4 separate regions of the Homo sapiens genome follow, and all the other regions are linked to region 4. Evidence: promoter capture Hi-C in human tissues and cell types (Jung and others, 2019). All regions are on one chromosome and are shown on one strand. Each heading gives the region's core, a stretch centred on a gene start or on the middle of the fragment in contact. The rest is flanking DNA. Distances are from core to core; before and after follow the strand shown.

The links. The method cuts DNA at HindIII sites, captures the fragments that hold promoters and counts their contacts. A contact is called where the count stands out against the background at its distance.
Region 1: a fragment that was not itself captured here is called in contact with the fragment with the promoter of CIDEA in region 4 in 2 of the 25 tissues and cell types used here (dorsolateral prefrontal cortex and lymphoblastoid cells).
Region 2: a contact is called between a fragment that was not itself captured here and the fragment with the promoter of CIDEA in region 4, in 1 of the 25 tissues and cell types used here (IMR-90 fibroblasts).
Region 3: a fragment that was not itself captured here is called in contact with the fragment with the promoter of CIDEA in region 4 in 2 of the 25 tissues and cell types used here (IMR-90 fibroblasts and spleen).

Annotation. Positions count from the first base shown.
Region 1 is chr18:11,769,782-11,775,893 of GRCh38, forward strand. All of the region lies in intron 4 of GNAL (G protein subunit alpha L), which reads left to right. Among named protein-coding and RNA genes, the nearest start is that of CHMP1B, 79 kb to the right of the region's middle. RefSeq lists an enhancer at 5,373-5,872. The HindIII fragment of the contact is 3,169 bases long and covers 317-3,485 here.
Region 2 is chr18:11,924,013-11,929,819 of GRCh38, forward strand. The region is part of intron 2 of LOC101927511 (a long non-coding RNA gene); the gene reads right to left. Among named protein-coding and RNA genes, the nearest start is that of MPPE1, 19 kb to the left of the region's middle. The HindIII fragment of the contact is 4,409 bases long and covers 1-3,821 here.
Region 3 is chr18:11,790,640-11,796,227 of GRCh38, forward strand. The region is part of intron 4 of GNAL (G protein subunit alpha L); the gene reads left to right. Among named protein-coding and RNA genes, the nearest start is that of CHMP1B, 58 kb to the right of the region's middle. The HindIII fragment of the contact is 5,353 bases long and covers 1-4,638 here.
Region 4 is chr18:12,250,888-12,256,670 of GRCh38, forward strand. It overlaps CIDEA (cell death inducing DFFA like effector a), which reads left to right and starts at 3,474. Exons shown (of 5, transcript NM_001279.4): 1 at 3,474-3,534. The coding sequence starts at 3,497. LOC105371996 (a long non-coding RNA gene) reads left to right here and starts at 4,126. Exons shown (of 2, transcript XR_935158.3): 1 at 4,126-4,544; 2 at 4,692-5,783. RefSeq lists an enhancer at 2,610-3,216. The HindIII fragment of the contact is 10,266 bases long and covers 1-4,830 here.

The DNA.
Region 1 (6,112 bases), core at 651-3,150, 480 kb before region 4:
AATGATCCTTACTACAATCTTGCTTATCCTACCTATTTACACACATGTCTAAAATATACACACACACATGCACACACACTGGCACATGCAGAGGCTGAATCATGCACAAAATACGTAAATGATGAACATTTTTTTAAAAATATTACCAAATATTGATGGGATATGGCAGTGTTGTTTTTGAAAAATATGTAACATGACTTTAATATTTTTATAGTTTTCAGAATTAGAATCATAGGAAGGGAAAATGTTTTAATTAGATAATTCAACTTTTTATGTGTCTGTAGTGGTGTACTATAAAAGCAAATTATAAAGCATTATTAAATATTCATAATAATTTTTAATATTACCTGCATTATGAATTTAACTAAAATAAAGTGAGTTGTACATTTTTAATTGAGTTGTTTCAATAGCTGGAAGCATCCTGAAGCATTATATTAATTTTTGAACTATTTGAATTCAAACTGAGTATGATTTGAAAATAAATTAATAATTTAAAAACAAAAATAAAAATATTACCAAATATTAAACTTACCTCAATGATTATTCTTCAGAAACATCTGAAAAGAATGATATTTTCATAGCAAAACCTTTAGAATCATCTCTGAAAAAAGAAAAAAGGGAAAACATATTTTCTCTTAATTTTCCTCCCTACTGCCACCACCCATGTGAGAATCATATGAGTTTGACCACCCATTATTCTTGATTGTTTCTAGAGCTGTCTATGCAATCTCAGTCAAACGAGTAATTTTTAACCAGAGTATTTGTAGAAAAATAACAGTTATTTGAGTTTTCATTTTTATTAAAAATAATGTTAAAGATTTTATGGCATTATTATCAGGTTGCATTTTTTTTAATCCACAGGAGTGTACCATTACCCTAAAGAATACCTTTTAAATTATTGGGAGGTTCCTATCTCCATTTTCTCAAGCTTAAATAATCTCCTTAAATAATCTAAATTTTAGATATTATGTAAGTGTTCTAATACTTTACATATTGAATGAAGATATATCATTTTAAGGTATTTAGTTTTAAATTTAAGTTTTTTAAAAATAGTTCTTAAGGTGTTATATGTTTACTTTTTTTCTTAAATCACGTGGCATCAGCTGACATCTTTAACTGCTTGAAAGAATTAAGCCAATAAATATTATCATGGCCAGGTGCGGTGGCTCAAGCCTGTAATCCCAGCACTTAGGGAGGCCAAGGCAGGTGAATCACCTGAGGTCGGGAGTTTGAGACCAGCCTGGCCAACATGATCAAACCCTGTCTCTACTAAAAAAATACAAAAAATTAGCCAGGCGTGGTGGCAGGCCTCTGTAATCCCAGCTACTCAGGAGGCTGAGGCAGGAGAATTGCTTGAACCTGGGAGGCAGAGGTTACAGTGAGCCGAAGTCGTGCCACTGCTCTCCAGCCTGGGCAACAAGAGTGAAACTCTGTAAAAAAAAAAAAAAAAGAAAAAAAGAGATTATCATTAGTGTTTCTTATTTCTTTGGTTAAAATGTTATAGTGAGTAGTGTGTTATATCATCATGTGAATTTTCATAACTTATTGGAAGTTAATGTTAATGTTAACATTAACTAATTGGAAGTTAATGATAATGAAATTAATCATTATCAGTTTTATATGAACAGGCATTTCATTTTTTTTTCTAAATGATGACCTGATATGTGTCAGGAACTATGTTCAGCATTGGAAATACTAAGCTGAATTGTGTACACCCACGGGAATTCTCACAGGGCTCACAGAGCTTAAACCCCTAGGACACACTGTCATGTTGGCAAGGGGAAGGTGGACACAGCCCTTTGGGAGAAATAGTGGTGCTATCCCAGGGAAGGTGAGGGGTGGCCTGGCCTTTGAAGAATGGGTGAATTCAGCAGGTAGACCAGGGACAGTGGCAAGTGCAGTATGGCCAGCACAGCCCTGTGTGCAAATTTTTTTGTTGTTTGTTTGTTTTGAGATGGAGTCGCACTCTGTCACCCAGGCTGGAGTATAGTGGTGCGATCTCAGCTCACTGCAACCTCCTCCTTCTGGGTTCAAGCGATTCTCCTGCCTCAGCCACCCCAGTAGCTGGAATTACAGGTGTGTGACACCATGCCTGGCTAATTTTTTTGTTTTTTTTAGTAGTAGAGATCAGGTTTCGCCATGTTGGCCAGCCTGGTCTCGAACTCCTGACCTCAGGTGATCTACCTGCCTCAGCCTCCCAAAGTGCTGGGATTACTGGTGCCCCGCCCCTGTGTGCAAATTTGGACACCGCAGAGGTGCTCCTTCTCAGAAGTCCCCCACATCATACAAATCATTTCAAGAGCATCTAGCCCTACAGGAAGATCATGGAGAGACATTCTTGGACTTTTTTATTACACTTGCTCCAGTGTAAAATTTTATGGTATGAATACAGTATGACTATTATAGCAGAAATAAATAAAAATACCAGGACAGATAATAGAAAAGAGTTGTAAGAAATTCAGGAAATGTATGTGCTTCAATAAAAAGAATGCTTTAAATTGTCCTAGTTGATTTTATTGAAGGTAAATTTGAAATTCCATACTTAGTATTTAAGTCAAATTACCACTCATGCTTCTCTTGTGGTTCTCTTTACTGAGAAATTCAGGAGACTGCATCTTTGCAGGTTTCTCACTTCAATTCCATGCCCATCAGTTTGCCCCCAGTGCCGTCCTGTTCCAGGTGATCATAGGGCCAAATAGAGTTGATGTCTCCATTGTGTTTTGACCAAGCTTCCCCATCTGTGCTCTTTTGGTGGCTTTGCCTCTAATCTTAGCATTTCAGCTGGAAGCGCACTTAGGTGTGTCTGATCCAAGACTTCCTCTACAGATGAGCAGGGCATTAGCGCAACTCTCTACGAGACTTGTCCAGGGTCATCCAGATGTGCTGACCTGGAGGCAAAGCCAGGACTAGAACCGAGTCTCCCGATTCCTCATCCAGTTCTCTTCTTGTCGCTTCCATTCATGCAGGGTGCGGGTCTGCATTTATACAGCGGAGTTTCATTATCTATTAGGTTGAACTATTAAAAATTGCCAATATTTGGCCAATTTTGAGCTCTGATATGGCAGTTTCTTACGGTTCAACCCGTTAGATTAAATGTCACCTGTCAGTCTCTCATTACAGTCCCTTACATCCCTGTCCTGCGAAGACAGCATTGCCATCGAGTGGTAGGTATCCTCCCTGCGGACAGAGGCCCCGTCACAGTGGGCCCAGCCCTGCCCTTCTATGCTACAGGCTCAGGTCTGCACCTGCCTTTGTGCTTCACTCTCAGCAGTGACATCTGCTGCATCCCTCACTTGCCACCATCATCTCTACTGGGAGCCTTCCCTGACCTCTGAGATGAGAGGCAGCCAGTTCTCCCAAAGACACACAGCCCCTGGGTTGTCTGGCACCAAGGTGTCCCCTTACCAGGGCTTGCACGTCTCATGTCCACTGCCCACCCATAGTTACCCATTTTTTGTGGCTAAGCACATAACATGCTCACTTACCTACAATTGCAACAACTAGAAGTTAGAGCAGTCTGTTTAAAAGGCTTTGTGTAAATCACCCTGAAAGATTCCTGGTATGTGTTGGAGCAGGAGATAAACGGGATGACACACTACATAACCAGTCTCTGAAATGGTCCCCACGGTAGGCTTGATATTGTTTCTTAAGGCTCTTTTTTGAAAAGAGAGGAAACAAAATAGTACCAAAAATCTCATAATAGGCCAGATGCAGTGGCTCATCCCTTTAATCCCAGCACTTGGGGAGTCCGAGGTTGGAGGAACGCTTGAGTGCAGGAGTTCAAGACCAGACCAGCCTGGGCAAAATTATGAGACCCCATCTCTACAAAAAATCTTGTATAAAAATAAAAAAAATAGCCGGGCATGGTGTTGTATGCCTGTGGTCCCAGCTTTTCGGGAGGCCAAGGCAGGAGGATCACCTGAGCCCAGGCAGTCAAGACTGTAATGACCTATGATTGCAGCACTGTGCTCTAGCCTGATGACAGAGGAAGACCTTGTCTCAAAAGAAAAATCTCACAATAGTTTTACGCATATGATTATATAAAAACAATCGCATCTGAGTAATTTCGGTGACTAGAGTAAAAGTTCCTTAACATTATGGTTAAGAGTGCAGACTTTGCAATTGGTCTCACCTCTGCCTCTTCCTGTCTATGTAACCTTGGTTGAGTTAATTAGTATCTCTATGCTCAGTTTCCTCATCTGTAAAATGGGGATAATAATAATAATGCCTAGCACATGAAGCTTTTTGGGGGAATTAAATACAATAATACATCTGAAGTGCTGGGCCCTGTGCCTGACACACCTTAAACATTCAGTAAATGTGAGATGTCATCCTGGTCACCCTTCACCATGCGTAATGTTATGTGTGTGTGCTGCCTTTTCAGACGTTGCCGAGTGCTGAAGCCACGCACGGGGCCCAGTTTGACTCGGCACGTCTTGGTGTGGCCGAAGAACAAGCCTGGCTCTGAATTAAGAGTCAGGCTGTGGTGTTTTCAGGGAACTTTCTCTGCCTTCTGTCAGTTTTCAAGGCTTGGCATTGCATGGGAAGAGTCAACAAATACTATATTCTGCAGAAAGTATTGTGGTCTGAAATAGTGTAGACTAAAATATAAAGAAAAACCAAATTGGGATTTTAAAATGCATGAGCGCCCATCTAAAAGAGCCACCTACGCCTTGGTTTTCCTCTTTTTTGGTGAAGTTGATAAATTGGCTTGATACCAATGAAAATGGCGACCACTGCTTGAACAGCACTTCATGCCAAGAACTGCCCTAAGCTGTATAACTGCAGCAATCTTATGGGTGGAGAATGGTGGCTCATTTCATATGTGAGAAAACAGAAGCCCAGAGAACATAATTGACTTGCCCCGAGTCATAGAGCTGGGTAGAGAATGGTTCAGAATTTGAGCCCAGGCAGCCTGACCCCAGAGCCTGTCCCCCTGTGTACTGTGAGGTGACCTTTCTGGGTTTAAGAATCACGGGTCCAGGTTATACACTGTATCAGCCTTGTTGCAGCTACAAGCTTGGTGTGGTCACTTCACCATCCCTCATTTTGATTTTTGTTTGCAGAGTTTAGGTCGATAGACATTGCGGGTATATTTCTAAGTCTTATTGAGGAAATAATCAGTCCATGAGTGCCTGTAGCTCACTACATGAGCCATCTATCTGGAGATGGGCAGGGCTCACACAGCACAGGCCATCTTTCAGTTCTGCACCTGATGGACAGCACCTCTTCCTGCGGCAGAGCCTGAGTGGCCATCGCTCGGCTCAGCCCAGTGCGAGGCAGAGAGTCCTGCTGAATCTCCCCTTGACTAATGGCTTCTTTCTAATTCCTGATTTACTGAAGACAGCCTTTCTGTCTTGAAGGAATTACTCTGTGGCATTTCCCAGTCTTAGCAAGTGGTTCTGGGGGGCCCTGATGAAAGCACTGTGTTCTGGCGAACTGAGAACCAACTGTGGACCCTTGCTTTGTTTGAGGGCCAGGGGTGGCCAGGAGGGTTTCTCTGCAGAGTCCACACCTCACCCATATGCACACACTGGGAGGAAATATTTTTCAACCATTGGTTTAACCATTGAATAGTTAGCTTTGTAGTACTTACTCCTCTGAGATTTTACGCAGATGATCTCACTTAATCCACACACATGCACGCCCCCGTGTAGTAGCCACCATGGCGGTCCCCTGACGGGGTAGATACGTGGCCCGTGTCACACAGCATGTGCAGCAGGGCTGGGACTTGGCGCCAGGGCCTACACTCTGAGCCACAATGTCTAAGCCCTACCTCACCCAAAAAGATTCCTCTAAGTCTGTGTCAGATTAGAAATGAAGAGGGGACAAAGAGAAGTACCACGGACAGCAAGAAAAGAGGAAGATGCACATCAGAACTCATAAAGCAAGTCCCTCAAGAGGCATTCTGTGTGGGGGCAAATTCCCAGGGGTTCCCGGTGTCTACAACACAAATACAGTGACTGACGCAAGATCCTATGTCCTCAAGGAGAGAGAGGAGGTGAAATTCCAGTGTTTTCATTTCGTAAGAAGGCAGAGATGTATGGAATGCTTCAGGAAGATTTCCATTCAAGAGTTTATGTGGGAAAAAAGTTTTATTGCTGAAAGAATG
Region 2 (5,807 bases), core at 367-2,866, 330 kb before region 4:
ACCTCCTGAGTTTGTGCCATTCTCCTGCCTCAGCCTCCCGAGTAGCTGGGACCACAAGTACCCGCCACCACGCCCAGCTAATTGTTTTGTTTTGTTTTTTTTTGTATTTTTAGTAGAGACGGGGTTTCACCGTGTTAGCCAGGATGCTCTCGATCTCCCAACCTTGTGATCTGCCCGCCTAGGCCTCCCAAAGTGCTGGGATTACAGGCTTGAGCCACCACGCCTGGCCAAGAAAGAAAATATTTTTGATTAGCCAGGCATGATGTTATATACCTGTAGTCCCAGCTACTCTGGAGACTGAGGCAGGAGGATCACCTGAGCCCGGGATTTTGAGGTTGTCATGAGCTATGATCACACCAATGCACTCTAGCCTGGGGAATAAAACAAGACTGTCTCAAAAAAAAAAAAAAGAAAGAAAGAAAGAAAGAAGGAAAGAAAGAAAGAAAGAAAGAGAAAGAAAAAGATATGTTTGGTTCAGCTGTACAATGTGTTTGTGGTTTAAGCTGTGTTATTACAAATTACTCAAAAAGCTTTTAAAAATTAAAAAGTCTTCTAAGTTAAAGTTATTGTAAGCTAAGTTTAATTTATTCTTTTAAAAGACTTAGGAAATTTAGTATAGCTTAAGTGTACAGTGTTTATAAAGTCTACAGTAGTGTATAGTGATGTTCTAGGCCTTCACCTTCACCCACCACTCACTCACTGACTCAAGAGCAACTTCCAGTCCTGCAAGCTCCATTTATGGTAAATGCCTATACAGGGGGTAGCATATTTTCTCCTTTATTTATTTATTTATTTATTTTTGAGACAGAGTTTTGCTCTTGTTGCCCAGGCCGGAGTGCAATGGCGCAATCTCGCTCACCGCAACCTCCGCCTCCCGGGTTCAAGCGATTCTCCTGCCTCAGCCTCCTGAATAGCTGGGATTACAGGCATGTGCCACCACACCCAGCTAATTTTGTATTTTTAGTAGAGACGGGGTTTCTCCATGTTGGTCAGGCTGGTCTTGAACTCCCAACCTCAGGTGATCCACCCACCTCAGCCTCCCAAAGTGCTGGGATTACAGTTGTGAGCCACCGAGCCCGGCTTCTCTTTTATACTGTATTTTTATTGAACCTTTTCTGTTTAGATACACAAGTACTGACCATTGTGTTTCAACAGCCTGCAGTATTCAGGACAGCCACGTGCTGGGCAGGTTTGTAGCCGAGGAGTAATAGGCTATATCGTATAGCCTGGGTGTATAGTCAGCTGTACCATCTAGGTTGTGTAAGTACACTCTGTGATGTTTGCCTAATGAGGCACTTCCCAGAACTTATCCCCATGGTTAAGCAATGCATGACTATAAATGAAACATGAATAAGATCAAGATGTAAATGGTGGCTGGGGGCAGTGGCTCACTCCTGTAATCCCAGCACTTTGGGAGGTGAGGCGGGTGGATCACTTGAGGGCAGGAGTTCGAGACCAGCCTGACCAACATGGCGAAACCTTGTCTCTACTAAAAATACAAAAATTAGCCAGGCATGGTGGCACACGCCTGTAATCCCAGCTACTTGGGAGGCTGAGGCAGGAGAATCACTTGAACCCGGGAGGTGGAAGTTGCCATGAGCTGAGATCACGCCACTGCACTCCAGACGGGGCAACAGAGCGAGACTCCATCTGTAAGAATTAAAGAGGAAAGAAACATGAAAAGCAGCTCAACAGTCAAAGACAGGTTTATTTTGGAAAATAAACTTGAGAGGGGCTTCTGGCCATTTTTGGTCAGGAGCGCTTTCTCTTATAGACTAAGAGTATTTATTGGTTTTAGGGTGAGGGAGCTTATCACAGGCTCAGAATGTTTCTGCATGAGGGAGAAGTTTATTTTGGGGTTGGAACGTCTCTAGTTGGACGGGAGGTTATCTTGAGGCTGACATCTCTCTGGCCTGTGGGGAGGTTATCTCGGGGATGGCATGTCTCTGGTCGGGGAGGTGTTTATCTTGTGGTTGGAATGTTTCTGGCCAGAGTTGTCATTTGTGGTTTATGGCCATGCTGACCTTAGCCATTAGGCTGATGCCCTTTGGATTTAGGTGGTTTTTGATCAAGGGGGACTTTAGAAGGACAGTGCTTGTCCAAGACGGCGATCCTCCTGCCCTGTCACCATCTCCCCCACCACAAAGAAAAAGATGTAAATTGAATCTGAACCTGTATTCGTTCCCTATTGCTGCTCTAAGAAACTATTGGTAAACACAGTAGCTTTGGGCAGGGCATGATGGCCCCGGCAGGCTGAGGCAGGAGGATGGTTTTAGCCCAGCGGGTGGAGGCTGGAGTGAGCTATGATCGTGCTGCCGCACTCTAGCCTGCACAACAGAGTGAGACCCTGTCTCAAAAAATGATAATAATACAAAATAAACATAGTCGTTTGAAAAAGCACCAATTTATTATTGAAAAAGCACAAATTTATTAATGCTGAAGATTGGAAGCCCAACACAGGTCTTACTGGACTAAAATAAAGAGGTCGACAGGACCGTGTTCTTTCTGGAAGCCCTAGGAGAGACTCCATTTCCTCACCTTTCTCAGCATCTAGAGGCTGCCCACATTCCTTGGTTCTTGGTCCCTTCCTTCATGTTCGAACACAGCAACAGTGGTTGAGTTCTTTCCAGATGGCACCACTCTGATATCCTCTTCTGCCTCCCTCTTCCACGTTTAAGGATTTATGTGATTACACTGTGTCCATCTGGATCATGTCCCACTTTTAAGATCAGCTAATTAGCAACTGAGGGTTTTTTTTGGCTGGGCATGGTGGCTCACGCCTGTAATCCCAGCACTTTGGGAGGCCAAGGCGGGTGGATCACCTGAGGTCTGGAGTTTGAGACCAGCCTGGCCAACATGGTGTAACCCCATCTCTACTAAAAATACAAAAAATTAGCCAGGCGTGGTGGTGGGCACCTGTAATCCCAGCTACTCGGGAGGCTGAGGCAGGAGAATTGCTTGAACTTGGGGGACAGAGGTTGCAGAGAGCTGAAATCGTGCCATTGCACTCCAGCCTGGGAAACAAGAGTGAAACTCCATCTCAAAAAGAAAAAAAAAACAACTGAGGGTTTTTTCTTCCTCTTGACATCAACCGTGTCTTTTCCAACACCACTTCTCCAACTCTCTGATGCCAGCTTGGTGTCCTACAATTCAATTCCTTTCTGACACTACCTGGAGTTATTGTGTGACTCCACAGTCACACAAGACTGTCCTTAGACACCAAAGAAAGGACTGGGTTCCCAGGTTAGCCTAACTTCTGCTGATTGACCTACAAAGGAAAGTTCCTACAAAGAGGTTTCAACTACCTCATTACCCCAAGGTTAAATAATTTGCTAGAATGACTCACAGAACTCAGGAAAAGCTGTGCTTACTCTTACCGTTTATTATAGAGTACAAATGAACAACCAGATGAAGAAGTACCCAGGACAAGGTAAGTCCCGAGTGCAGAAGCCACTGTCTCAGTCAAGATGGGGTGCACCACCCTCTGGGATGAGGATGTGTTTGCCAACTTGGAAGCTCCCTGAACCCCATCATTTAGGGGCTTCTATGGAGGCTTCAGTCCATAGGTTTGACTGTGGCCACTGGTGATCAGCTCAATCTCCAGCCACTCTCCCTTCCCTGGAGGTTGGGGGAGGGGGTGCAGGAAATGCTGATCTTCTAATCAAGCTTGGTCTTTCTGGCAGCCAGCTCCCACCCTGAAGCTAAGTACAAGAGTTGCCTCACTAAAACAAAAGAGGCTCTTAACACTCTATTGCTCAAAATTCCAAGGGTTTAGAGCTTTGTGCCAGAAACCAGGGACAACGACCAAATATCTTTCTTGTTATTCCACAGCAATATCAGTTCCATCTACAACCCTGATTCCCCTTTGCCATGAAAGGTAACACATTGGCAGGGCCTGGGGAGTTGGACATGACTATCTGAGGGGCACTATTCTGCCTGCCCCAGCATCTAACATTAAAGATAGCAGCTCAGGAAGCTTGGCAGGGTGGCATTATGGAGTGGGGATTGCAGGGCTGATTAAACGACCATAATCAGGCTGGGCGCCGTGGCTCACGCCTGTAATCCCAGCACTTTGGGAGGCCGAGGCAGGCGGATCACCTGAGGTTGGGAGTTCGAGACCAGCCTGACCAACATAGTGAAACTGCCGTTTCTACTAAAAATAAAAAATTAGCCGGGCGAGATGGTGGGCACCTGTAATCCCAGCTACTTGGGAGGCTGAAGCAGGAGAATCACGTGAACCCGGAAGGTGGAGGTTGCGGTGAGCTGAGATCGCACCATTGCACTCCAGCCTGGGCGACAAGAGCCAAACTCCATCTAAAAACAAAAAAACAAACAAAAGACCGTAACCAAAGTTACCTTCTCAGGGCAATGGAGACAAAATAGAAAGGGAGCTCTTGGAGGAAGATGCCGTTTAGGGCAGTGTGGGCTGTGGTCTGCCCTCTCCTGCTCCTCACTCACCACTGTTCGCTCTCGCACAGAAACAAGTCGGCCAGGAAACCGCGCAGCAGCCACAGATTTCTTTTTTCTTTTTTTGAGACGGAGTCTCACTATGTTGCCCAGGCTGGAGTGCAATGGCGCGATCTCGGCTCACTGCAAGCTCCGCCTCCCGGGTTCAAGCAATTCTCCTGCCTTAGCCTCCCGAGTAGCTGGGATTACAGACGCCCGCCACCACATCTGGCTAATTTTGTATTTTTAGTAGAGACGGGGTTTCTCCATGTTGGCCAGGCTGGTCTCAAACTCCCGACCTCAGGTGATCTGCCCACCTCGGCCTCCCAAAGTGCTGGGATTACAGGTGTGAACCACCGTGCCTGGCAGCCACGGATTTTAAAGATACTAAAACACACCCATGGAGCCAGAGGTGCCAATTCACCAATTAGAATCACTCTAAGGAGCAGCAAGGTAAAATCCCTGGAGAAGGTGTGTGCTGACTTGATCAGAGGGGCAAAGGAAAAGAATCTCAAAGTGAAAGGACCAGTTCAAATGCCTACCAAGAATCACTAAAAGAAAAACTCCCTGTGGTGAAAGTTTTTTTTTTATTTTGAGACAGAGTCTCGCCTGTTGCCCAGGCTGGAGTGCAGTGGCATGAGCTTGGCTCACTGCAAACTCCGACTCCTGGGTTCAAGCAATTCTCCTGTCTCAGCCTCCTGAGTAGCTGGGATTACAGACATGCGCCACCATGCCTGGCTAATTTTTTGTATTTTTAGTAGAGATGGAGTTTCACCATGTTGGTCAAGCTGGTCTCGAACTCCTAACCTTAGGTGATCCACACGCCTCAGCCTCCCAAAGTGCTGGGATTACAGGCGTGAGCCACTGCGCCCGGCCAGTAGTGAAAGTTCTAAGACACCGGATCATTTCCAGATGATAATCTGCAAGTGACTCATTGACTTGCACGGCCCTTCTGAGACCGTTAAGGAATTTACTTCCATGAATATTGGGAGGAATCTGTGAGGCATTCACAAAGCAGAAATAATAATGATATAGGCCAGGCATGGTGGCTCACACCTGTAATCCTAGCACTTTGGGAGGCTGAGGCAGGCGGATCACTTGAGGTCAGGAGTTTGAGACCAACCTGGCCAACATGGTGATACCCCATCTCTACTGAAAATACAAAAAAATTAGCCGGGCATGGTGGCACGTGATTATTCCCAGCTACTCGGGAAGCTGAGGCAGGAGAATTGCTTGAACCCGGGAGGCAGAGATTGCAGTGAGCCAAGATCACGCCACTGCACTCCAGCCTGGGCAACAGAGCAAGACTTTGTCAAGGAAGGAAGGGAGGGAGGGAGGGGAGAGAAAATGGAGCTGTGATT
Region 3 (5,588 bases), core at 712-3,211, 460 kb before region 4:
TCTTTTCTTTTCTTTTTTTTTCTTTTTTTTTTTTTTTGAGACAGTCTTGCTCTGTTGCCCAGGCTGGAGTGCAGTGGCACGATCTCGTCTCACTGCAAGCTCTGCCTCCCGGGTTCACACCATTCTCCTGCCTCAGCCTCCTGAGTAGCTGGAACTACAGGTGCCCGCCACCACGCCCAGCTAATTTTTTTGTATATTTAGTAGAGACGGAGTTTCACCGTGTTAGCCAGGATGGTCTTGATCTCCTGACCTCGTAATCCGCCTGCCTCAGCTTCCCTAAGTTCTGGGATTACAGGCGTGAGCCACCGCGTCCAGCCAGCTGATGGTTTTTCAATCAAAACTATTCCAATACTTAATTTAAGAAAAACCAGAAACTACTATTTAGGATTTACAGAGCAAGATATCCAGATTTCAGGAATGAGAGGTGACTAATTCCCAGAGTTGTTTTCAAATTAAACTGTCACTTTAAAGCTGTGAAGGGAAGGCCAAACAATTTGGTTAAGCATGTCCTTTCGGCATGGTGGTGGCCATGGCTAAATGGTTTGTGTGGGTTCTTAAGCCATGGCTAGGATCCTAGTGAAGGTTTCCATGAAAGTAATGTTGAAACTCTGAAGGAAGCAACTAGCCACAGTTATTTTTAAATTTCCTGCCTGTTTGTTTCTTTGTTGCCAGCCACAGGAATGGGAACCGCTAGGTGTTTTTCCATAGCCATAGCAGAACAGGCTCCCCTGTTGAGCAGTGAAGACGCCTGGGTTAGGGGGTGAAACCAGAGAAGCCATAAGGGATGCTTTTTGCCTTCTAAACAGAAGGTTGATTATCAAGAGATCATGCTTGTTTGTTTGAAATAAATGAACTGATTTCTCCCCTGGGTGTTTCTCTTGGTAAAACATTTTAAAAGCTTTTAAAGTGGGGGAGGAACTACAACCAACTCCACACTATCTTAATAAGATACTAAGCTCAGATAGTAAACACACACAAAAAATTAAGCTACTGCATGTGATCTATTTAGGAAAGACTTTATATTAGAGAATAACAGAGTTAGCTTATAGGTGCAATCATCTAGACTGGTTAGCTGCTGTAGACAGATATCTATCAAGTTTTCTGCTTCATTGGGTTTCATTGCAAGGACTCGAAGTAGGACACAAAGGACTTCGGACTCAAGTAGCTTCCCATGTCTACCTCTGCAGTGATCCAGGTGTGCCGAGAACTCCCGAGGGTCTGCACCACATCCATAGTGCAGCACTGTCAGCCTCACCTCTCACAGGTGTCTCCCCTGGTACAGGTGTCTCCTGCACAGTTAAGCCAGTCTGTTAAAGACTGTTAATCATTTTGATTATGACTATTGTCATTTCCGATTTTAATTTCCTGCTAATTTTTTGAGTTCAGACCCACCTCTTTTGGAGACCTTTCCAACCTGTCCTGAAACTGAGCAACCTCTCCCTTTTTGGCCACTTCCTGTGGCTTTCCTAATTGGCACCATAGCTTTGGTCACGAAATTATATCCAGTACTTACTGCCTTGTATTGTTTCCTTCCTCCCTCCCTCCTTCCTTCCCTCCCTTCCTTCCTTCCGTCTTACCCTGTTTCCCAGGCTGGAGTGCAGTGGCGTGCAATCTCAGCTTACTGCAACTTCTACCTCCCGAGTTCAAGCAATTCTCATGCCTCAGCCTCCCGAGTAGCTGGGACTACAGGCGCACACCACCGCACCTGGCTAATTTTTGCATTTTTAGTAGAGATGGGGTTTCACCATGTTGGCCAGGCTGGTCCCAAACTCCTGACCTCAGGTGATCTGCCCGCCTTGGCCTCCCAAAGTGCTAGGATTACAGGCATAAGCCACTGCACCCAGCTTGTCTTGTATTGTTTTCTAATTACTTGGTATGTCTTAGCCATAGTCTCCCTACTGAAGTGTTGACTTCTTGAGAACAGGAGTATTGGCCATCTCGCCTTGTCCTAGACACATAATCTGCAAAATTACAAACTCTTTGAGGACAAGGGCACCTCTTTCTCATTCATTGCAGTATCCTAGCTCCTAGCATGGTGCCTAGCACAGAGTTAGAGCTCAATAAATATTTGTTGAATGATTGATCAATTGTTGGCACTGAGGGAATACTTGGGCATTGATTATAAGATTTGAAGGAGAGGGTAATTCTTGTCTTAAAGTGTCTTTGGCAAACTACCAACCTGGTGACATGGTGATGCAACTTCCATATGACAGAGGACACTACCAAATCCCTTAGTAACTTTAGGTATGTTTATATAGTTGGACTTGTTATATTATTGAATAGTGTCATTTTCCAATAAAAAGTTGTGGAAATTTGAGAAATAATCTAGATTGAACTAATTCTAAGAGACATATATAACTTTACTCCATATGCAAAAATTAAATCAAAGTAGATCAATCACCTAAATATAGGAGCTAAGACTATATGTAGGGGTAAATCTTCATGATCTTGGATTTGGCAGTGATTTCTTGGATATGACATCAAAAGCTTGAGCAACAAAGGAAAAAAATAGGTAAATTGGACTTCATCAAAATTTTAAAATTTGTGCATCAAAGGACATAAGAAAGCAAAAAGACAATCCACAGAATGAGATAAATATTTGTAAACTGTGTATCTGATAAGGGTCTAGTAACCAGAATATATAAAGAATTTTTGCTTGGGTGCAGTGGCTCATGCCTTTAATCTCAGCATTTTGGGAGGCTGAGGTGGGAGGATCTCTTGAGCCCAGGAGTTTGAGACCAGCCTTGACAACAATTGAGACTCCCATCTCTTACAAGACAATTTATTTTTTAATTATCCAGGCCTGGTGGCATGCACCTGTAGTTCCAGCTACTTGGGGGGCTGAGGCAGGAGGATCACTTGAGTCCACAAATTCAAGGCTGCAGTGAGCTATGATTGTGCCACCACATTGCAGCCTGAACAATAGAGCAAGATCCTGTCTCTAAAAAAATAAAAATCTACAACTCAACGACAAAAAGACAAATAATTTAAAAATGGACAAAGGGGCCAGGCGCAGTGGCTCACGCCTGTAATCCCAACACTTTGGGAGGCTGAGTCAGGCAGATCACAAGGTCAGGAGATCGAGACCATCCTGGCCAACATGGCGAAACTGTGCCTCTACTAAAAATAAAAAATTAGCTGGGCGTGGTGGCACGTGCCTGTGATCCCAGCTACTTGGGAGGCTGAGGCTGGAGCGGGAGTCAGAGGTTGCAGTGAGCCGAGATTGCACGCCACTGCACTCCAGCCTGGCGACAGTGAGACTCCATCTCGGGAAAAAAAAAAAAAAAAAAGGACAAAGGACTTGCTTAGCATTTATCCAGAGAATATATGCAAATGGCCAATAAGCACATGAAAAGATGTTCAACATCTGTTGTCATTAGGGCAACACAAATCAAAACCACAATGGGGTGCCACTTCACACCCACTAGAATTCTATAATTAACACACACACAGAAAATAACAAGTGTTGGAAAGGATGTCAAGAAATTGGAACCCTCATGCATTGCTGCTGGAAGTGCAGAATGGTGTAGCCACTGTGGAAAACAGTTTGGTTGTTTCTCAAAAGCTGAAACATAGTACTACCAAATGAACCAGCAATCCCAAAATCACTGAAAGCAGAGGATCAAACGTATCTCACATTAATGTTGATAGCAGCACTATTCACAATAGCCAAAGGGTGGAAACAACCCAATGTTCATCAACAGATGAATGGATAAACAAAATGTCTTCTATCCGTGCAAGGGAATATTACTCAGCCATCAAAAGGAACGAAGTTCTGATACTTGCCACAGCATGGATGAACCTTGAAAACAGTATGCTAAGTGACAGAAGCTAGATGTGAAAGGCCACATATTGTAATTCCAAGCATATGAAATGTCCAGAATAGGCAAATGTATAGAGACAGAAAGCAAATTGGTAGTTGCCAGGTGTTGGAGGGAAGAGGGAATGAGGAGTGACCACCTGGTGGGCACAGGATTTCCTTTTGGACTGATGAAAATGCCTTTCAACTAGAGGGGCAGTTACACAACGCTGTAAATACACTAACACCACTGAGTTGCACACTTTTAAATGGTTACTTTTATGTTATGTGAATTTCACTTCAATTAAAAACACACAGGTTAAAAAAAAAAAAAAAAAAAAAAAAAGGACAGGCCAGCCCAGTGGCTCACGCCTGTAATCCCAGCACTTTGTTTTTTGTTTGTTTGTTTGTTTGTTGTTTTTGAGACAGAGTCTCGTTCTGTCACCCAGGCTGGAGTGCAGTGGCGCGATCTTAGCTCACTGCAACCTCTGCCTCCGAGGTTCAAGCGATTCTCCTGCCTCAGCCTCCTGAGTAGCTGGGATTACCGGCGCCTGCCATCATGCCTGCCTAATTTTTGTATTTTTAGTAGAGACAGCGTTTTTCCATGTTGACCAGGCTGGTCTTGAACTGCTGACCTCAGGTGATCTGCCCATCTCAACCTCCCAAAGTGCTGGGATTACAGGTGTGAGCTACCCTGCCCAGCCTAATCCCAGCACTTTGGGAGCTGGAGGCAGCTGGATCACTTGAGTCCAGGAGTTCAAGACCAACCTGGCCAACATGGCAAAACCCCACCTCTACAAAAATTACAATAAATTAACCAGGCATGATAGCATGCACCTGTAGTCCCAGCTACTCAGGAGGCTGAGGCAGGAGGATCACCTGAGCCAGGGAGGTTGAGGACGCAGTGAGCTCACTACACACCAGCCTGGGTAACAGAGTGAGACCCTGTCTCAAAAAAAAAAAAAAAAAAAATGAACAGGCATTTAACAACATTTGTACTATCATTAGGAAAAAATAGCTTTCTTAAATTCCTGCTTATTGAAAAATAGATTGAAATAATTTATAAATATTGCAGTGTCACCAAATATCCTTCATTGATAAACTACAGATTTAAGGATGGCGACAGAAGAGCAGATGTAGTGAAAGGCTTTGTACTTAGTGTAAATGCCATTATGAGAGAAGTTCAGCTGAGACCTGTTTTAAATAGTCACTTGCTTAGATACTGAGCATGATTCTGTGTGAGGCGTCAGTCTGTGTGTCTGGCCATGTGGCTGTGTCACCAAGCTGCAGGACAGCAGGACTCTGCTGCCATCCAGGCCTCTGGTTCCTCCAGAGGTCCCTTGGCTGAGAAGAGCTCCCTGTGTTGAAGGTCTGGATGTCGCCTGGGTTCTGCAGGTCTCATCAGACTCCACTAAGAATGAAAACAACCTTCTCCAAGGAGAAATGGCCTTGCCATGGGTTAAGAGTAAAAAATTCCCATCTCACCAGCTCCAGGTGATTGGGGATAGAGCGTTCCTAGACAGTAATAGCTGATCCCTCCCAGGAATGGAGGACCCAGTTATGAGGTTCATCAAAGCTGGGGTCAGCTAACGGACACCAAGTATTCGCCCGGAAGGAGAATGCTATGGCACTGGAGGAAAGTAACCATCCCTCCTTAACCCATTCATTAACTTTATATACACAAACCACAAATTTACAGAATGGCATAGTAAGCAGGAAGCCAGTGAAAGGTGATCCCAGGCCACCAACACCACCAACAATGTGTGGTTTAATATGACAGTTGGACATG
Region 4 (5,783 bases), core at 2,224-4,723:
ATCATTTACACCTTAGTATAAATAACTATAGAAAGTTTTTTCAAACAGGGAGGCTGGAAGCTATACGGAAATAGGAGGACACTTGGCTTTGGCAAATAGCAGAGCAAATTGAAATAAATTATTTGCCTTACTGACCATTCTGCTGAAGATGCCCTGGCTATGTGTTTAACGGTGTTTGGATTAGTCCTCTTCCAGTGCTTGATGGTTCACAATGTATTTCAAAAGCATTACCTCACTCGACTCTCACTGCACCCCACTGAAACTTGGTAAAAAGTGCATGTCATCAGGGATCAGTAGGAATAAAGAAACTGAAGCTCAAAAAGGAAAGTTCCCACAGTGACAGAATTTGAAAGTAGCAAGGCCAAAGTTCAGGGATGATTGTTTCCTCCACCAAAAAAAAACAAAAACAGAAATTGGATTAGAAACTGGAGTTTCTTTGAACCCTAAGCACCGATGTTTATAACGTATTGCGGTAAGTGGGAATCAATTTCTGTTTCAGGCACGCGCTCTTGGCTAGGAGTAGGGAGTGGAGCCGTTCATTGCTGTCGTGGTCAGTCCCACTCACGCTGCTGGAGCTGACCAGGCCGGCCCTTCCCTCATGGCATTTGAGTCTCACACACCCTGTGAGACAGACAGGCCGCTGCCCTGTGACAGATGAAGATCTGAGGCTTGGGGTAGTTATGTGACTGGCCCAAGGTCACCCAGCTAGAGGAGGCAAAACCAGGCTAGGAACCTAGGTCTCTGCACTCCAGAGCATGGGCTGTGCCCAGCACATGCTGAGACTCGGGGAGTGGGGAGGCATCCATACTTTGGAGAAAGAGCAGAGCCCACTGTGGCATCACCCCACAGATACTGCTGGGAGCCGAGGGAAGGCAATGCTGAGGTCCCTCCCTGAGGGTGTGGGTGTCAGGTGGAGCCCACTGTTCACAGCTGCACAGGCTCTGTGACAACAAACATTTGGTGAATTGAACTAAAAAGCTGGGTTCCCAATCCTGGTTGCCCGGGCACAGAGTAGTTGTTGAACATGGATGAATGAAACCTGTCGAGTGAGAGTGGAATGAATTTGTGTGCTGGAGACGAGAATATGCTGGAAGGCTGGGCATGACTCGCACTGTTGTCTTCTCCATCATCTGTTGGGTTTGCAGCCAAGTCCCCTGGAGCTCAGTCTGCCCTCTGCCCTCTCCCACCTCTCCCCACCACCCTCCTAGCGCAGCACTCCAGGATTCCCACTCAGCAGCAGGGCAGTGACCGACTTTTACTCCCAGCCTGAAGATCTGCATGAGAACCAATGCACACCAGGGCTATGCTGCCTCCGTGACCAAGGGGTCCCCAGGGCCTGGTCTCACCACCATCTCCGCTTCCACCACAGACTTGCTCCCGTCCAGGATTCCTCATCTCTCCAGTCTCCCAAGCTCAAAACCCCAGGGTGATCTCCTGCTGGGTCCCTTCTGCCATCGCCATGGCCTGGAAATGTTTGCTAGTCCCCACCCCACCCCCATGTCCACACTCAGTGCCCAGGTCTTTATTTTTATTTTGTTAGAAGTGATAATGTCACTATGGTTATGTATGAGATCATGTCCTTGTTTCTCCAGAGATGCAAGCTAAAGGATTTAATTTGGAAGGGTTCAAATTCAAATATAAAGAACAAAGAAATATGTCAAAATGTTAACAGTGGTTGAATCCAGGGGCTGGGTGTAAGTGTGCTCATTGTACTGTTCTCTCTTATCTATCTATCTATCTATCTATCTATCTATCTATCTATCTATCTTATATATAGATAGATAGATATATACACACAAACAGATTTTTTTCTTTCTTTAGAGAGAAAGTCTCACTCTGTTGCCCATATTGGAGTGCAGTGACATGATCACAGCTCACTGCAACCTCAAACTCCTGGGCTCAGGTGATCCTCCCTCCTCAGCCTCCTGAGTAGCTAGCACTACAGGTGCTCGCCGTCATGCTTGGCTAATTATCGTTATTTTTGTGTAGAGATAGTAGTCTCACAGTGTTACCCAGGCTGGTCTCAAATTCCTGGCTTCAAGCCATCCTCCTGTTTTGGCCTCCCAAAGTACTGGGATTACAGATGTAAGCCAGTACCCTCAGCCCTGTTCTTTCTATGTATCTCTATATTTGAACTTTTTCACAATAAAAAGGTTAGAGGTAAGTTGACCTGAATTGATTGGACCCATTTTCTCATCCATCACATTGGGGCTGTGAGTGGGAGGGGCAGTGAATGACCTCCTAAAGCTGTGTCCGCTCAGTGCCTCTGGGGGAAGCTGCCCCCTGTGAGCCTGGAGCTGGGTGTTCCCAGCAGGCGGAGTCCTTGACTCTGGAAGGCAATTGCCTTTGGCTTCAACAGTCCTGCAAGTCACAAGGCTTGTTGACCACGGTGACCCTTTCTGAGAGCCAGCGGAGGAAGAGGGCGGGCATAGGGTCAGGTCTTAAGAGATCAGGTCAGTCTGCTCAAACCAGGTGGGCTCAGGAGGAGCCGGCGAGGGTCCCGCTGCAGCTCCCGAAACGCTGTTTCCAGGCGGCAGTCAGCAGTTGGGCACGAGAGGATATCCTAGCAAGCCTCCATCCCAGAAAGTTACACCTCTTACTGCCCGAGTCCCACCCCTCAACACTGAGCCCACCTCTTCAGTCCTGTAGTGAGGGGTTCTGGGAACCCCTTGTAACTGCCCGCCTTCCTCGGAGGTCTCAGAGGCCCTAATTGCGTCTTCCGATGGGAACAACCATGAGAGCAGGGTGTGGACGGAAGTCCCCCAGCCCCAGCGGGGTTCACTCTTTGCCTCCTCACTCTGCGAGGGTCCCTTACTACAGCTAAAAGGCAATTCATGCAGTCCAAAGGCTCCTTTCCCCTCCCGTTCTGCATGCCCTTCTCACTGTCCCCAAATGCTCATGACATGGCCTTGAGAGCAGCGCAGCGGGCAGGAAGCCCAGGCGCCTCGGAGAACCTGAAGGGCTGCAGGTCCCGGTGTCTGCGGCAGCTTCCGCATCCCTGCAGGGAACCAGCGGCTCGCTGAGCCTGGGGCTGGGCTCTGGGGGACTCCAGAGCTGGAGGCAAGTGGCGCTCACATCCGTCTCCTCACCTGCCCCACCCGTGGCCTGGGTTTAAAATCCACATACCCGTCTTTCCGCGGCCAAAGTGATGCTGCCAGGATTGGTTATGACCCCAACTGCCCCGACCCCCAGAAGTGCAAAACGAACAGGCTGGCAAGTGACCAAAAGAGACCCGGGGAGCATCTGGGCTTCCAAGGTCCTCGGTACGGCCCAAGGCAGCGAAGGACGCGCGGCTCCAGGCTGCGGGAGCCAGGACGACCGGGGGCTCCCAGAGCGCGAAGTCGCGATCCTCGGCGGTGGAGAGCTCGTGCCAAAACGTCCTCCCCTGCGCCAGTCAGGCCTTCGCGGGGCTGGCAGGCGGGCGGGGGCGGGGCCGCCGCACTTTAAGAGGCTGTGCAGGCAGACAGACCTCCAGGCCCGCTAGGGGATCCGCGCCATGGAGGCCGCCCGGGACTATGCAGGAGCCCTCATCAGGCGAGTGCCCCGCGTCCCCCTGATTGCCGTGCGCTTCCAATCGCCTTGCGTTCGGTGGCCTCATATTCCCCTGTGCGCCTCTAGTACCGTACCCCGCTCCCTTCAGCCCCCTGCTCCCCGCATTCTCTTGCGCTCCGCGACCCCGCGCACACACCCATCCGCCCCACTGGTGCCCAAGCCGTCCAGCCGCGCCCGCGGGCAGAGCCCAATCCCGTCCCGCGCCTCCTCACCCTCTTGCAGCTGGGCACAGGTACCAGGTGTGGCTCTTGCGAGGTGCGCGGGCGTCTGCAAACCAGGTGACAGCTGGCGAGTGGCTGCATGCATCTCTGGCCGCTGCTGCAGTCGCGGGCGCAGAAGAGGGTCCGGTCCCAGGAACCCCGAGCAAAGCTTCCGCGATGCGAGGGGACCGGGCTTCTGGGGGTCCTGGAAATCACAACGGGAGCTGGGCGCGGGAGGGGCCCAGGCTTGGCCCCTCCTGGAAGCGCGGGCTCTGGTCTCCGAGGGGAGGCCCCAACCGTCCGGCGGAGCCCTCCAGGTTGGTGGTGCTGGGAGAAGCGCTCCTCCTTGCCTCCGGGTCCAAGGGCGGAGACGCTGCCTGGGGAGCAGGGGGGACAAGGGGCGGGTGGACCCTGAGGAGTCTTCCCTGCGCTTCGCACCCGCTCGTGGTCGAACAGGCAGCATTGGCTATTTTCCTGCTTGGGTTAATATTCATATCCCAACAGACCCAAGCCAATTCTTGGTAAAATCCTAAGTCATTGCGTGGCAGCAACTGTAAAGTAAGGTCTAAGAGGGAGATCGTGTTTCTCTGAAGATCAAGTACCTGGAAAAGGATAGAGAACCATTTGCGGGCTTGAAGGTGCAGGCGTTCAGCGGCGCCGGGTCCCACTGTGTGTGCTACGTGTGGCGGGCAGAGAGACTACATGTGTGAAAGGGAGCGGTCCGGCTACGAAACGCAATCTATGAGCTTCCAATCCCGGGTTCTTAAATGGGAGCTGTTGTAGACACTGCAGGTTAGAAGCATCTTTCTCTTTAAAAATAAGCCCACAGTACAAGTCGGGGCGGTGGCAGGGGGACGCTGAGAAACACCTGCTTCGTGTATGGTCATTAACACGCTTAGGCCTAAAGGTCAGGGCCCTGTATCTTTTGCGTTCTTCCAGAACCATCCACACCACAGTCCCACTTCCAGGAGGGGAGGTCTTAGCAGTTTGGAATGCGTCCTTCCAACCACTTTTCCAGTGAATTCACAACACACCCACTGTTCCTCCGGAGCATGGGGGAAGGAGGTGTGGGCTGACTCGCACTAACCAATCCTGGTTGGCCTCTGAGCAGGATTCAGGCTGAGCCTGTCCCTGCCTCTGACTATTATAACAGCTCACCAAAATCCAAAATGCATCTGTGTGGGGTCTCTGTGAGGTCGTGTGAAGTGGAAGTGACTTGCTTATGAGCTGTTGACAAATGAAACATTGGGAAACCTTGAGTCTCCTAGGACACATTCCTTCCAGCTTGGCTCATCCCAGGAGTGAATGACTCTACCTGTTATGGACAAGCTGTTGCTGCAGTTCTTTGAAATCTACCTGCTTCCAGGCTGAACTACTGTCATTCTGTGAAATCTACCTGCTCCCAGGCTGAACTACTGTCATTCTGTGAAATCTACCTGCTCCCAGGCTGGACTACTGTCATTCTGTGAAATCTACCTGTTACCAAACTAAACTGGAAGAAAACAATCTGTAATTCTTGTTGAAGGGAAAACACCTTTTCTTCCCTGCCCCTCTCTAAAACCCTGTCCGGGCAAAAGAGCCAGAGGCCAGGTCCTAACATATTTGCTAATTGTGCTCTTGCTGGACTTCGGCTTCCTCTCAGGGTTCCTTAATTTAAACCAGGTCCAGGATGTCATAATTCTGTCTTTATTAGTAACTACATTTTACCAAGGAAAGAACCGAATCAATGTGCACAAAAATTTTTAAAAATCAGGTACTTGTAGTCAGTGGTGAAACCTTAACCCAGGCATTTGTTAGTCAGCTAGAATCGTTAGGGGCCTTGGTCCTGAGGAAAGCAGCCTGAGGTCTCACAACAAAGCTCCAGACATCAAGGAGGTCCACATGCAGGTTGACTATCACAGACAAAGTCTGCTCTGTTCCTGTGTTCTGCCAGTGATAACATTCCTGCCAAACGCTGAAGTTGTTATGAAGCTGGTACATGTTATAAGCTTCGTGTGAAATGGCTGCTTTCATAGCTATCTAGCACATTTT